Linked DNA regions of Homo sapiens: regions 1 and 3 are each linked to region 2. The links are contacts of gene promoters, found by promoter capture Hi-C in blood cells and fetal thymus (Javierre and others, 2016). All regions are on one chromosome and are shown on one strand. The core of a region is centred on a gene start or on the middle of the fragment in contact, and the rest is flanking DNA. Distances in the headings are between cores, read along the strand shown. Region 1 overlaps CHN2 (chimerin 2). Region 2 holds the start of CPVL (carboxypeptidase vitellogenic like). Region 3 overlaps CHN2 (chimerin 2).

Region 1 (2,700 bases), core at 144-2,643, 270 kb before region 2:
ATGCATTAAAATCTCCATGTATATCATTTTACAATCCCAGAGTTCGGGGGTGTTTCAAAGCTACACTGAGAGAGAGCTGGGTCAGGCATCACTTCCTAACCTTCAGGAGGGTAACATCAATTTCAGTTTCCTCTCATCTGAACTGACTCCATCATGACTGGAAGAAGTGAGACACATGCTTGTGTCTGAAGACTCACATTTCAGACTCATCACCTTGCGATATAGTAAAGGTATACAGAGCTTTATAGTATTGCCCAATCCTTTTCAAATTCATATAGCTCAAGGCTAAAAATGCACACAGAGATTGTTCTCTTAGAAATCACAGAGGCAGGCATGTGTGTAATGAACACATCTCTTCTCGAGGAATTCCCTCAGCCACACCTATTTCTTCATAAGAACAAATCAGTCCAGAGCAGAAGACGATTAGAATCAAGCCACAAGGACACTGAGTACCGATATTGGGAAGAGGAAAATAATTCCTAATATAACGCTTTGTTTAGAAGCTTTAAAATGAGACACACAGCAAATCTGCTCACTGTGTCAATGTGGTCCAGTGGAAAGTACAGCCTGTTCGAAGTCAGACGAGCCACCTTCTAGCAACTGGCTGTTCGTGAAATGACCCGCAAGTCACAAGTTCTACGACCCTGGGCAAATCGCCTGGCTTTCCCAAGCCCCGGGTTTCTTGTTTCTTTGTTGGAAGAGGAGGAACAATGAAGTTAAGGGTTGTCATGAAGCAGAATGAAATAATGTAGTTTATGATAGATTAAAAACAATGATATGCTTAATACATGTAATGTTCTTTCTAGGGGGAGTAATTGTAACTTTCCTAAAATCATTTGAGATTAACATAATAAAAGTCCCTTATATCATGAATTATTTTCATGGAATTTATATGTACTGTGGTAAAATATAACTGCTTTTACTCTGTTAAAGGTGTGTTGGGACACGCATAGCCCACAGTTCTGTGTCTTACTTCTAATCCTCAACTTGGGTATTAAAGTGTCTCTTGCAAATGACAGTGCTTTGACTTTTTAAATAATTTTTTAAACCAATGAGTCACTTGAGAACAATCAAAGTTGCATGTGTAAACTTTAACTTTCTCTTCTGATACTTGGACTTCATTAAGTTCATAAATGGGGACTTAGGAACAAAGTGAAATATTAACTTTGCGGGAACTTCAAAGTGATTGTGTATAAGGAGAGAGAAAACCAACAGGGGCATTTATAAACTATCATCATAAGACCCGGCCAGACATTTTTTTATTGCAAAATGAGTAATGCCAGTTCTGCAACCTGGTCCAGAGGCCATGAAAACAAACCAATGTAGCCCTGACAGTTTCATTTCCATTAACGGCAATGGGAATTATTCAGGGAACAAAATCCTTCTTCTTCCCACAGTTGATCCAGGACCCCACCCACCCACCCCTACAAATTCTTATAGGCCAAGCCTTTAATTCTGAAAGACTACAAATGGAACTTTGACCTTTCCTTCTTCAGAGTCTACAGGTTCCCAACTGCTCATCTGTTGTACCAATGATCTGAGAGATACCCCTTCCAACAGAGGGCTCTCGTGGCCACATCCAATGCTGCAAAAGGGGCCATGTTTCATCCCATTCTGTTAAAAAAGTTTCCCGGAAATATCACAAGTTGCTGAGAATCTGGTTTACCAGGTTCATTAAGACTCTTTAGTGTCCTGGCGCGGTGGCTCACGCCTGTAATCCCAGCACTTTGGGAAGCCAAGGTGGGCGGATCACGAGGTCAAGAGATTGAGACCGTTGTGGCCAACATGGTGAAACCTGTCTCTACTAAAAATACAAAAATTAGCTGGGTGTGGTGGTGTGAGCCCGTAGTCTCAGCTACTTGGGAGGCTGAGGTAGAAGAATCACTTGAACCCGGGAGATGAAGGTTGCAGTCAGCCAAGATGGCACCACTGCACTCCAGCCTGGAAACAGAGGGAGACTCCGTCTCCCAAAAAAAAAAAAAAAAAAAAAAAAAAAAGACTCTTTAGCAGAGCGCCTTAATCTTACTGAAATGCATTTAACTGTAAGAGGTCTACATATATATATGTTGTGGAGCCAGGAGGTAAAGGATGACGGCTGCATTCCAGCAGTGGCTTCTGGGTTATTTCCCATGTCTGCCTGGTAAACAAGATGCTACATTCCTACCCATTTCAGTAAACACTAGAGGTCCCCTTTTTCTGATTTAACACCACCATTTTAAAGAAGGGTAGTGTGGATTATTGGATTAAAATTAAAATGAACCTGAACTTGAATAGCTAAGCTTCCTCAGTAATGGTGACAAGTAAGGTGAGTGGGAATGAAGGACAGCAGAGGTGGCAGGGAGCTGACAGGTGGGTTCCAGTTCTTGTGGGGATGATAGCAGCTGCCGACTTAAATGCAGCACCAACATCTGCTTACCCAGCTCAAAGGCAAGGCAGCAATGAACTGCCAGCAGTACTGGAACATCCAGAGACGGGGGCGGGCTGAAGGGCAGCTCCGCGAGAAGCTCAGATCAGGCCTCAGGACTCAGCTTCTCTCTCCCCATCTCCAGGCTCTACTTTCTCCAGGCTCCATTCTCAGGCTCTATCGGGTGGCGGGAAGCCTTCAGCAGCCCAGGCTCTACTTCCTGCCTAATTGAGCCAAGCAGAAAGAGGGTGAAAGGCCTGGCTCCTGGAACTCACGGTAAAAGTCTGTTGTCTTCC
Region 2 (2,700 bases), core at 1-2,500:
GCCTACAGATCTCTGTTTGTACTTTTGCCCTGGGTCCTGCATATATTAAAGGTGGGCTGATTTTGGCCTTAAAAGAATTATTTTCCCACAAACAGATTTTTCTCCTTAAAGAGCTAGGTGGGTAGGAAGTACTTCCATATGGAAGGTATGATAGCAAAGAATGACTGCAGTCACTGAGCACATACTTTGTGCTGGGTGATTTACACATAGTTTTTCAGTGAGTCCTCACAACAACCCAATAAAGTAGGTACTTAGGAGAAAACAGATATTCAGTGACATTAGTTTGTTCCAGCTCGTAAAACTAGTGCTTTAGTTAGCCTTAGTTGCATAACAAACTACGCGAAACTGAAAGTGGCTTAAAACAATTTTTCCCCCTGACTGTCGGGTTGGCTGGGCTGCTCTACTGCGGGTTTCCCTGGGCTCACTCCTGCAGCTAGCTGTGAGGAGATGGAGGTTGGCCCGGGACAGTGCAGAAGATTCCCCGTGGCCTCTCCCACCTGTCTGGCAGTTGACGCTGCTGTTGCTGATAATGATGACCCTCCTTTATTTTGTGTTATCTACTTGCCATTGCAACCTCCTTGCCTTTTTTAGTTCTTGCTCCCGTACTGTCTGGCTCGATGCCCAGCACCTGGTGGTGGCTAATAATATACACTCAGGTCACTTACAAGCAATGTGACCCTGGATGGGTTACTTAACCTCACTTAGTTTGTGTCCCCCAATTGCAAAATGGGTATAATGGTACAGAACACATCAGGTGGCTCTGAGACTCCAGCGCAGTGATTCAGGAGAGTGCTTGGCAGGACAGTGGCACTTGGTGCGAGCTTACTGCTAGTGCAGCTGGAATGTAGACCATCAGCGAACGTGTGTTGCCTTTTTAAACAGTGGGAATCAAACACCACTCGCTTTCCAAATGTAAATCCTGGGCTTGCAAGTAAGTCCTAGAGTGCAGAAATAATTTCAAAATACAGGGTTGAAATTTTAAGATAGCAGCTTTTAAAAACTGGGAGACAAAATCAAAATAAAACAAAGGGACAAACCAACCTGAATGGCACCCCGCCGATGCTCTTCATTAATTTTTAAGATTCCACCCTGGGGCTGCTTGCTTCTTCCAGCATGGGAAGCGCTGACTTGATGCGGCCAGGTTTCTGGGACCAGGAGGTTGGGACACGACGACGCACTTTTTGCCCTGTGGGTCTGGGTCATGTGAGCCTAGAGGAGCGCTTAAAGGCTCGAGTTCTGCAGGGTCCTCGTGACTGGGTGGGGCTGCCTCACTTCTGCCTGATTTGGGAAGCGCTGCAAGGACAACCGGCTGGGGTCCTTGCGCGCCGCGGCTCAGGGAGGAGCACCGACTGCGCCGCGTAAGTGCCGCCTGCCCTGCGTGGGTCGTGCCAGCTCAGCGGGACAGGTCCTCGCCTCGGTCCCTCGGACTTAGGGAGCGCGGGGCAGGTAGTCTCAAAAGCCCTCAGCACCAACAGGGGAGAAAGCACCGTAGAGTGAGACTGGAGTGGGGTGGTCGTGGCCGAGTCAAAGTTCAAATTGGAGCATTGGGGATGTACTGCGTGCGCCCAGCCGAGGGAATACTCTTGAAGTTTCCTGGCACAACTGTCGCACCCGGGGTTCTTCCAGGCTAGAAGCCGTCTCCTACTCCAGGAGCTCCTCCGGGGAAGTACGAAGCTGTGGGGTCCTCTGCCGCTCTTAGCGCGGGAGGGTGGCGGGTGCAGGACACTTTCCCTTACTCCCTCAACGCGTGTTTTGGGGATGTGTTGATTTCGTGGGTGCTCAGAAGCAAGAGAAGCGGAAAATACCTTCTATTTTGAACGTGCCCAAAGCAGGGAAACTTGGCTTCTGCCTAGGAACGCATAGGAAGACTTTTATTCTTGGAATGTAGGATTAGCAGAAACCAAGGGCACAGGAGACAGGTGGAAGCAGCTCCCTGTGAAGTGATACAGAAACAAAAGGACTTTGGAATATTTGTGGATTTAAATCCCAGTTCTGGCCTTGGCTAGTGAGTGACCTCGGGCAAATTATTTAAGCCTACTAAACCTCAGTCTTTCCATCTGAAAGATGGAGATAATAAGTTTTTCTTTTTAAAGAATTGTTTTATTGGAAATAGAAATAACATACAGAAAATGCCTCCCTAGCACGGGACTTGGCTTTTCAGCTAAGTGTAATTTTCCTTATCAGTTATGATTGATGATGAAGTCTATGGTGAAGACAGAACAAAATAATGTTTAAAACTCTGGCCATATAATGACTGTGGCTATGCATGACCCGTGTGCAGTCACCTCTGAGCCCCCCACCTTCACTGCAACCCCAGTGGGTCCCAAGCAAGGTGCTTGGGTTTTGGAGCTGGACAATTCTGTGCAATTCCTGGTTCCGGTATCCACTACTTGGATGACATCAGGGACGTAACTTATCTTCCACAGCCTCAGTTTTGGCATCAGTAAATGAAAAAGGAGCCCCTCAGTACTTGCCTTTCCCTTCCCCGGCTAAATGTACAACTCATTTTTTTTCCATTCTTTGCTTTGGGATGAGTAAGAACAAAGATGTAAGCAGAGTAAAAAGTCCATTGAGAATACATTTTATTAGCTTGGTAAATAACGTTTAAGAAAGTTGTCCAAAAGGAGAATTGGAGCACTTTTGGAAAAGTACACTGCACCGGCTTTGTTGGCATATGAAAGTCTGCATGGTCGTCAAGAC
Region 3 (2,700 bases), core at 185-2,684, 280 kb before region 2:
GAAAAGTCAGGGGGCATAACAGAGCATTTATCCCAGGAGCAGGGGCAAAACTTCCCTAAATGTAAGCGTTTTAATTGGACAGTTGCACTTTGATCATATTCTATGAGTTGTGGGTGTTCCCTATACCAGGTACGCTTACTGGTTAGGCTTGGGGGCAGATTCTCTGCCCCCCAGTTACTCTCTCTTTCTTACTCGCCAGCAGGACCCTGACTAGGCTTAGGCAGCAACATGCAAGGATCCCAGGAATTGACTAAGAACAGTCCAAGCCAATTATGGCTCCTTGTTCACTTTGTCAATGACTGGCTTACAGGAGGGCATGGGACAGAGCAGGGGTCAGTGAGGGAAAGTCCGCTGGGGAGAGGCTTTCTCCTGTAAAGGGAGGGATGGAGAAGTGGAGAAGTCCCCTTTTTTTTTTTTTTTTTTTTTTGCTATCATCTTTCTTACCCTCTGCTTAGGACATTGTCACGTGATGCCTCTGTTAAGTTAAGCTTGGCCTAAAACTGCCTTCGTACATATTTTAAGTTTGGCCTAAAGGTGTCTCATCTCCATACATAGTGAATGGTAACCTACTCTGATGCGTAAACAGACTTTTTGATGTGTAAACTACTCTCGTAGCTGAGCTTTAGCCAACCAAATGTGGCCAGTTGTTTAGAGCAGACTCAAAAAAGGCCACGGCCCAGCTGTAACCAATCCAGCTGTTTCTGCACCTCACTTTCATTTTCTGTGCAACACTTTCTTTTTGCTGTCCATAAATGTTATCTGACCACGTGGCAGCCCCAAGTCACTCAGAACCTATTCTGGTTCTAGGGACTGCCTGATTCTAGAATCATTCTTTGCTCAACTAAACTGCGTTAAATTTAATTTGTCTAAAGCTTTTAACACCTGTGATGGAACAGCAATCTTCCTGTGCACTTGTTGACCAAATCAAGGGGGTAGGCCATGTAGTGGGGCTGGCAGAGGGGCAATGAAAAGAGCCTGGGTCCATGACAAAACCATCAGCTCCAACGCATCCTGAAACCACCATATCTTGGCCTTTCTGTTCAGGAAACAACAAATGCCCTGCACAGTTTAAATCTTTTAGCTGGACTCTGTTACTCAACAAAGATTTGCTACCTTTAAACTCTAAGAAAATATTAAGCAATATATCCTATGCAAAGCGTGTTTCTTTCTAAGTACAGTAGAAATGGCCTCCTAAAGGGGAGCATCCTAAAGTGGATTTACCTTTTCTCCTTGGAACAGCGTGCTTCTATTCTTTACAGAGGTCTTATACTGCCAATTAATTATAACACAAACAGCATATGAAATCGAAGATATAGCTACGAAGCTTAAATAGCTATACGCTAATTACGCAAGGTTCCTATATATAATAAAGTCCATATAAAGCACAAAAGTACACCATATTGTTAGATACATTTCCAAATTTATATGTAATATAAACATCTAAAATTAATCTAGTCACAACAAATATAAAAATCAAATTTCTACCTTATAATTTTATCTAAGTCTGTACTAGGACCCACTCAAGTCCTGCTCTCAAAGCTTTAGTATAAAACTCAATCACATTTTCCAGGGAACTGAACCTTGAACACATATTCCAGGGAACTGAACCTTGAAGTATGGGTGTGTGTGTGTGTCTGTGTGTGTGTAACTCATGCTTTGTTCCAAAAAGTGTAAGATGGGCAACCTGTGTGTTTCTTGTCAAAGGTCATCAATTTCTCAACTTATAAAGTAGATTTTATATAATTGGTATCAGATATCAAAGCGAACCAAAAACAAAACAAACAAAAGAGTCTCTAAATTTAGTTCCCACCATCTCTTACTGTTAGTTTCAAAGGAGATCAGAAATGTTTATAGACTATTTCACTCTTACTGCAATACCACCTGATTCTAAAAAGACTGATATCTCTTCTTTTACTTACTTGGTTAAATGCATAGCTATTTCAGATAAGTGTCTGCCAACTTCCAAATGACTAGGGCAAAAACTAGGCTCATTCTGGAATTTTCTGAAGTGGTCTGAGTATATGAAACCAAATGTTATTGCTCTTGGAGAACACTAAACAAGATACTTGTGATATGCATAGGGCAAGAGGCAATAAACCCTTGAAAACAGTCAACTACTGTAAAGATTGGGAGGCGGTGACCCATCCATTTCTGCTTTCTCTTGAGCAGTAGCCAGTTACAGTCCCCACTCAATGAAAATGCGAGTGGAAATGATGTGCTACTTCCAGGACTGGCCCATAGAAACCTCCCCAGTGCGGCCCAAAGAGACTCATTTTCCAGCTGACCAGAAAAGCCTCTCAGGATTTACATCATTGCATCTTCAACTCTGGTCTCAGAACCTCTTTATATTCTTTATTTAGGACCCCAAAAAGCTTTTGCTTCTGTGGGTTGCATCAGTTTATACTTACAAAGAAAACTTCAGAATATTAATACATTAAAAATACAAAAATATAAATTTTATAGGCCCTACGTGCTAATATAAGTAGTTTTTACATAAAAATTAACCATATTGGCTCAAACAAAAAAATGACAAAAGTAGCATTATGTCACGTTTTTCCAAATCTCTTTGTTATCTAACTTGATAGAAGACAGTTGGATTCTCACATCTGGTCCTATATTTCACTTGTTGTGTTGGTTGAAGAATATGAAAAAAAATCCAGGCTTTTGCAGAGACACAGTTGGAAAAGGAGGGCCTTGTGG

What was found. Contacts are between HindIII fragments. The CHiCAGO score rates a contact against its expected background, and 5 or more counts as called.
Region 1: a contact is called between a fragment that was not itself captured here and the fragment with the promoter of CPVL in region 2, in 5 of 17 cell types (total CD8 T cells, endothelial precursors, M1 macrophages and 2 more). The highest score is 7.6, in total CD8 T cells.
Region 3: a contact is called between a fragment that was not itself captured here and the fragment with the promoter of CPVL in region 2, in 1 of 17 cell types (total CD8 T cells). The highest score is 6.2, in total CD8 T cells.

Annotation. Positions count from the first base shown.
Region 1 is chr7:29,411,618-29,414,317 of GRCh38, reverse strand. The region is part of intron 6 of CHN2 (chimerin 2); the gene reads right to left. Among named protein-coding and RNA genes, the nearest start is that of PRR15-DT, 150 kb to the left of the region's middle. The HindIII fragment of the contact is 1,776 bases long and covers 506-2,281 here.
Region 2 is chr7:29,145,087-29,147,786 of GRCh38, reverse strand. It overlaps CPVL (carboxypeptidase vitellogenic like), which reads left to right and starts at 1,250. Exons shown (of 13, transcript NM_031311.5): 1 at 1,250-1,358. It also overlaps a transcript of CHN2 not described here. The HindIII fragment of the contact is 3,879 bases long and covers 1-2,700 here.
Region 3 is chr7:29,428,517-29,431,216 of GRCh38, reverse strand. The region is part of intron 6 of CHN2 (chimerin 2); the gene reads right to left. Among named protein-coding and RNA genes, the nearest start is that of PRR15-DT, 130 kb to the left of the region's middle. The HindIII fragment of the contact is 215 bases long and covers 1,327-1,541 here.